Regions from separate parts of the Homo sapiens genome. Here region 2 is linked to region 1. Evidence: promoter capture Hi-C in 16 types of primary human blood cells and fetal thymus (Javierre and others, 2016). All regions are on one chromosome and are shown on one strand. The core of a region is centred on a gene start or on the middle of the fragment in contact, and the rest is flanking DNA. Distances in the headings are between cores, read along the strand shown. Region 1 holds the start of RBM4B (RNA binding motif protein 4B). Region 2 overlaps RBM14-RBM4 (RBM14-RBM4 readthrough).

Region 1 (3,473 bases), core at 319-2,818:
GAAGCAGGTAAGCCACGGACCTTTATCCTCCCTTCTCTCATGAGGTACTCGTTTCCCCAAGCAGATTACACTTCCAACAGCACTCGAATCAATGCAAGAATCCCGCAGGGTAAAGTAACCCACAGTTTGTGATTCTATGCAGTCGGTGAGCAACATCTTAGCAAACCTGAAAAGGGGAAGTGTTTGCTTCCCCAGGGGTAAATTATGCTTAAGAGCGGTAAACATAATCTATTATTTCCAGCTAAAACAGAATGGAAGAGACCACCCAGCAAGTTCTATAGTCTTGTGTTCTTGCCTGTTTTGAGCTAGACCCCACTCGGCGCTACTACCCAGGCCCAGAGCAGTTCACCTTGAAACTCTGTGTTGTCAAGGCCCCTGATGGCCTCCACTGCATCCTCTGCCCGCTCCATGTGTACGAAGGCATAATCTTTCACGATGTCACATTCGATGACCGGACCATACTCCTCAAACTTGGCTCGAAGCTCTTGGTTGGTACAAGTGGGGCTGATGTTACCCACGTGTAACTTGGTTGAAGCTTTGCTCTTATTCTTGCTGGCTTCCACGTTGATGTTCACCCCATGAAGCTTGTAATGGTGCAGGTTGCGTATGGCATCCTCAGCTGCCGTCTTGTCTTCTATGTGCACAAAGCCGTAATTCTTAATGATGTCACATTCCAGCACCTTCCCATACTGCTCGAAGAGTGAGCGAATCTCCTGCTCTGTAGCCTCCCGGGGAAGGTTTCCGATGAACAGCTTCACCATCCTGACAAGAGCCTGGGAGAGAAACACAAGACTTCAAAAGTCAGGGGTGTGGTGGGAAATTTCGGTGCACTGCAGCATTTTCGTCTAATCCTCCAAAGTTCTTGCACCTTCAAGACCCTCGTACAGACATTCATTATTCTTCCTCAATAGAAGAAGGGCGGTTTGTTCTCGAGAAGTGCGAGCTATGCGTGACATGCAAACAGGAGGTCGAGGGTCAGCATGCATAGCCCAGTCTATCATCTCCGTGAAGTGGAGCGCAATGAAATACCAGAATTAGCTGCTTCATGTCTTAAAATGAGGGAAGAGAAAAGCCCAAGCAAAGGCAAGGGGCATCAATCGCAGTGCGCCTGGTAACAAGGTTTTGGAGGGAAATCTGTGTACCTCTCCTGCGCGCACTAGCGCCTTTCAAGATACTCTAAAAAGAAAAAAGTCCCCTTTCCCCCAAACCGGGGACCAACCACCTCGCCCCCAGCGGCCCACCCTCCAGCTTCTTCGCCCCAACAAAGACTCGACCCGACCCCTGCCCCGCCTCCTTCCGGAGACCCGGCCCCGCCTCCTCCCGTTGTCTTCCCAGACCTCCCGCTGCAAAATGAGAAACCCAAATCCGGGCCGTGCAGTCTGCCGGAGGCCCGGCCCGACCCGCCCCCGAGCTCCCCACATCACACACACACGACCCCCTCGCACCTCCGGGTGGCGGCAGCGACGGCGGCTCCCACGTCAGAGAGAACCTTACAAAATGGCGACGGCCGCTCGAGCCTGGACGCGACCGGGCCCTTTCTCGCGCGCCAGCTCACGCACGCGCGAGTGCGCGCTGCTTCCCTCCCCTTCCCCTCGCGGGAGCCGAGTGACCAATCCCGAGGCTGCATACAAATGACCACGCAGCACGGGGGCGGGGCCTGTTGGTGGTGGCGCGGCGCCGCGGAGGTCAGCCCACCCCCAGCCCCAGCCAGCCAGTCACCACCCTGGAAAGGGTCGCCACTGCTGCGTCAGAGGGGCTCTGAACGCAACCACTGCCTAGAAAAGCGGAGGCCTTGGGGAGTCGCTCACCACAATGGGTCCTGCTCTTGGGCCCTTTGAGGGGGGCGGGGAGCTAATGACAGAGGAATCTCCCCGAGGGCCCTAAAAAGGGGCTTTTGTAGCGGGCTGGCCGGCTTCTGTGGCAGCTTGGGGCAACATTTCAAAAATACAGGTGCGCCACATTTTAAGCAAAACTAGTCATTGTTTTGTAGCGCTTTAAACATTATTTTAAAGTTTGTCATTGCAGAGGTGTTATTTATTGCTACGGAAACTGAGAACCAAGGGGCAGAAAGATAACCTGGCAGAACTGGGACAGGCCTAAGAGGCATTGCTACCCAGGCTACGCTTAGTCATGTTTTGTTTGCTCGTGAGTATCCGTGGTCTGATTCTCTCTCACTCATTGTGTGTCCATCACAGTCCTGGTCTGTGGTGAGCACGCCAGAGGAATACTTGGTGGAGAGGCCCAGCGAGGTCCCTAGTTCTGGGTGGGACAGGGTCTCCTCGTACACACCAAGCTGGAAGTCTAGGCAACTGAGTTTCCCGACTGTCTAGCATTCAAAATTCAGCTGTGGTCCAAGGGCACCTCCTGGCGGTAAAAACAAGCTTAGGCGTGCCAGGTGCGGCGGCTCACGCCTATAATCCCAGCACTTTGGGAGGCCAAGGCGGGCGGATCACGAGTTCAGGAGTTCGACACCAGCTTGGCCAACATGGTGAAACCCCGTGTCTACTAAAAATACAAAAAATAGCCCGGCGTGGTGGCGGGCGCCTGTAATCCCAACTACTCGGGAGGCTGAGGCAGGAGAATCGTTGGAACCCGGGAGGCGGAGGTTGCAGTGAGCCGAGATGGCGTCACTGCACTCCAGCCTGGGTGACAGAGCAAGACTCGGTCTCAAAAAAAAAAAAAAAAGAAGTTTAGGCTGATTCCCCACTGTCACCTTCCAGCAAAGAGTAGCCTTTTATGGAGATTGATGGATTGGGTTTATCTCCTAGTAGAGCCCGCCAGGGAGGTTGTCAGCCACCATTCCTCATTTTAGTGGCTCCATAATGGCTTCTCTGATACCATCTGGGACACATTCCCCAGGCTGCCCTCTTCCACCCCAGCTACTTGGATATGTTCTTTACCTGAGTTCTTTTTGTTTCTCAGCCATTTCAGAAGAGGCACTGTCCTTCCAATTTTATTTTATTTTTATTTTTTGTTTAATTTTTTAAAGACAGAGTCTCACTGTGTCGCCCAGGCTGGAGGGCAGTGGTGCGATCTCGGCTTACTGCAACCTCCACCTCCTGCGTTCAAGCCATTTTCCTGCCTCAGCCTCCCGAGTAGCTGGGACTACAGGCGTGCGCTACCCCCCAGCTAATTTTTGTATTTTTAGTAGAGACAGGGTTTCACCGTGTTGGCCAGGCTGGTGTCGAACTCCCGACCTCAAGCGATCCGCTGGCCTTGGCATCCCAAAGTGTTGGGATTACAGGCGTGAGCCACCTCGCCCGGCCCTTAACTATTATTACTATTATTTTTGAGTCAGGGTGTCACTTTGTTGTCCAGGCTAGAGTGCAGTGGCACCATTATGGCTCACTGTAGCCTCGACCTCGCAGGCGCAAGTGATCTTCCTATCTTAGCCTCTGGAGCAGCTGGGACCACAGGTGTGGGCCACCCCATCCAGCTAATTTAAATTTTTTTTTTTTGTAGAGATGGGGGTC
Region 2 (3,473 bases), core at 603-3,102, 59 kb before region 1:
GCGACAAAATGAAGATATTCGTGGGCAACGTCGACGGGGCGGATACGACTCCGGAGGAGCTGGCAGCCCTCTTTGCGCCCTACGGCACGGTCATGAGCTGCGCCGTCATGAAACAGTTCGCCTTCGTGCACATGCGCGAGAACGCGGGCGCGCTGCGCGCCATCGAAGCCCTGCACGGCCACGAGCTGCGGCCGGGGCGCGCGCTCGTGGTGGAGATGTCGCGCCCAAGGCCTCTTAATACTTGGAAGATTTTCGTGGGCAATGTGTCGGCTGCATGCACGAGCCAGGAACTGCGCAGCCTCTTCGAGCGCCGCGGACGCGTCATCGAGTGTGACGTGGTGAAAGGTAACGCGGAGGCGCGCTCGGGGGCGGGGGCGCGCTCGGGGCACTCTGCCTGTTAGCCACGCCCCTTACCCGGGGGTCGGTCACTGCGCGGTTGGGAGGGGTGGGGAAGTGCGCGGGAGCAGGTCGGAGGTGTTGGGGGCGCGTTGGGTAGAGCCACCCTCCTCCCCTGCGGTCCAGGAACCGTCCACCAAGTAGGAGGAAGCGGCTCTGGGTGGGTGCGGCGGCCACTGCGAGCCAAGCTACGGGGCCGGGGACGCGCCTGAGAGCCTTGCGAGTGTTCCGGGGGCGCGCCTTCTCCTGGTCTCCTGGGCCTGGCACCCAGCGGAAATTGGGAAGTGACGGGCACAAGCCGGATCATGAAGCGGGGAAGATTTCTCCACTTCCCCACTTCCTCTCCAGACGTCGGTCAGAGCAAGGGAAGAGGGAAAAGGTGGGGGCTGACGCCCCAAGGCCGCCCTCCTGTTCCCTCCCGATGAATGTGCTCAAGCGGAAGGTAACGGGGCCCTTGGACGTTTCTCGGGCTGGGGTCTTTTAGTCTTGTCTGGCATGGGTCTACTCATGGGCACAGTTACACGTGGGTACGAGAGGGGCCCCTTCCGAATCACTTTGGCCTTTCAATATTAGGTAGGTTAGGCGTGGCAGCTCTGTGCTTTTCTCCTCCCTCAAACTTGGGGTTTTTCTTTGGGCTCGATTTTACATCTGTCAACTGGAAACCCCAGCCTTTTGCATGTGCAAGAAAGCTTGTTTTATGAAGTCCCCTTCTGCGTAGTCTTTACATGCCAAGCCAGTGCCCTAGGGCAGTGTCATTCTTTTATAAGCTTGGTGACTTTGCAGGGGGGCATACTCTGGCTGAGGGGGTCCTGGGGAGGGGTCTGTGAGAGCTCTTCATTAAACAGTGGCTAAACACGGTTTACTGAATCAGTAGTAGTCATTGCTTGAGTAGTCTGATTCTCAGGGCAGATCCCGGTGCCTTTTCTTCGAGAAAAATGTGTCACCATAATTTAAGCCTGACTAGGGACCCAGTTGACTTTTTCATAGCTTGAGTTTTTATCCCTTAAGCTCTTTATCTTTTACATTGGCAAGATTTGGTGGGACAGCCGTTGTGTATGTGGCCAGTCTCTGCTCCACTTGGGAACAGATCAGAGTTAACTTTGCCCTGTCATTTTGGAAGATGCAGCCTGGGAGTATCTGATGCCCTACTCCTGGTGGGTTCATACCTGCTCATACCCTGTGTGAGAAGTTTCAGGGATAGGAAATAAATGTGGGTGCAAGTGCTTATTTATCCCACCAAGATATTTCATTTGCTGTCCTGGAAAGGCACATGTTTGGGGCCATTCCTAGTCCTTTAAGTGGGGGAAATATAAAGGGTCATAGTGTCCACTACTAGGAACAAGTCCTTGTTCTGCATTAATACTGCATTCTATTTTCCTCAACTCAGGTTATACAAGTCCACGACTATCCGGAATCGGGCTTTCCTGCTGGGTGCTCTGAGGCAGGCTGTATGGTGCATGGATTTTTGCTTTTGTTTAGAGTAAAAGAGTGGTGGGGGAGGGTCTCAGATTGGGTACTTGTCCAGCAAAAGGGTGGGGTATATGAGTCTCATTTGTGAGAGTTTTGTGTTTAATTGACTTACCAAGTTTCTTTTGTGGTTGTTAGGTAGAGTGGCTACTAGGTTGAGAGTCTAGAGTCAAACATCTGAAGGGACAGTCTCCCTGGAACTCAGGCTTCTTGCTGGCTTTCAGGTGGTAGAGAAAGTCAAAAATTTGCCTGAAATTTGCTTGGGACCCAACACCAAGTGACGATGCGGGTGAAGTGCATAACTGCACATGAATTTTTAGAACTCCTGGCTGACTCCTTGTGAGAGTTAGACGGAGTTTTGTGCATCTTGTTCCTTTGTAAACATTTGATTAGCAAAAATGCATTGACTTACTCCGGGAGTGGTGGTCAACTATTTGCAGTTACATTGTTGTGTAACAGAGCTCCTGACATACTTCGATGTAAGAGACTGGGAAAGATTTGAACATCATATCCTCCACTGATGTCTTTTTATCTGTTTGTGATGACGGAAAGTGAGGGTTGAAAGTTGGGAGTGTAGTAGAAGCGACTGGCTCTCTAAAGAGCGTACTCATTTCTTATGCTGGGAATGGTCATTTGATTGAGTCTCCTTGTGTTGGCTGACAGGGCTTTGAAAAGCACAGAAGCTTGGTGTTGCACCAGACAACCAGCTCTGTTTTATTTCACAGGAAAAAAAAACAACATAGTTGCTTGGTTACTCCAGGAGCTTAGATAGGATTTGTAGAACAGAAATCTCAATAGCAACAGTGGATTGTAACCACTCCACAGCTTCCTCCTATTGGGTGTTCAAAGATGAACAGCTTCCGGAAACATGTACAGACTTGTGGGGAGATCTGAAAGACAAAAGAGGAAAATATCTTCTCTTCATTTTTGTGAGTGACTGTTTCTTCTTCCTATACAGAGCTCTGTAGTTTCAAGTTTAAGATTTTTTCTTTTTCTTTTTTTTTTTTTTTAGACGGAGTCTGGCTCTGTCGCCCAGGCTGGAGTGCACTGGCGCCATCTCGGCTCACTGCAAGCTCCGCCTCCTGGGTTCACGCCATTCTCCTGCCTCAGCCTCCCGAGTAGCTGGGACTACAGGCGCCCGCCACCACACCCAGCTAATTTTTTGTATTTTTAGTAGAGACGGGGTTTCACTGTGTTAGCCAGGATGGTCTCGATCTCCTGACCTTGTGATCCGCCTGCCTCAGCCTCCCAAAGTGCTGGGATTACAGGCGCAAGCCACCGCGCCTAGCCCTCAAGTTTAAGATTTTTAGTCTTAAGATAGGAGAACTTGTTTTTCTGGATTCACTTAACTTTGTTACTGGAGGACTTGTGATGCCACCAGACCATTTGGAGATCTCTGTAAAACATTACTTGATAGTCCCAATGCAGTGATTTCCTTCAGAGTTTCCTTGAATTAGATCTGTGGGCAAGAAGGTTCCTGGAATTTTTCAGATCTCTGGTTTTAATGGTCTTAGGAGTACTTGGGTGTTAGGGCATCTTTAATCTAGCTAGGTCTGTGCTTTGCACTTACTGTGATGGGGCTTATCACTACAGGATGCAGTTGAGTTAGC

Evidence for each region. The method cuts DNA at HindIII sites, captures the fragments that hold promoters and counts their contacts. A CHiCAGO score of 5 or more calls a contact.
Region 2: a contact is called between a fragment that was not itself captured here and the fragment with the promoter of RBM4B in region 1, in 4 of 17 cell types (naive CD4 T cells, total B cells, total CD8 T cells and 1 more). The highest score is 6.9, in naive CD4 T cells.

The regions. Positions count from the first base shown.
Region 1 is chr11:66,676,319-66,679,791 of GRCh38, forward strand. RBM4B (RNA binding motif protein 4B) reads right to left here and starts at 1,569. Exons shown (of 4, transcript NM_031492.4): 1 at 1,446-1,569; 2 at 350-773. The coding sequence starts at 761. RefSeq lists silencers at 1,182-1,291, 1,492-1,771. The HindIII fragment of the contact is 1,797 bases long and covers 583-2,379 here.
Region 2 is chr11:66,616,713-66,620,185 of GRCh38, forward strand. RBM14-RBM4 (RBM14-RBM4 readthrough) reads left to right here. Exons shown (of 2, transcript NM_001198846.2): 1 at 1-345. The coding sequence starts at 9. RBM14 (RNA binding motif protein 14) reads left to right here. Exons shown (of 3, transcript NM_006328.4): 1 at 1-345. The coding sequence starts at 9. Among named protein-coding and RNA genes, the nearest start is that of RBM14-RBM4, 1.8 kb to the left of the region's middle. RefSeq lists enhancers at 1-801, 1-163. The HindIII fragment of the contact is 1,383 bases long and covers 1,162-2,544 here.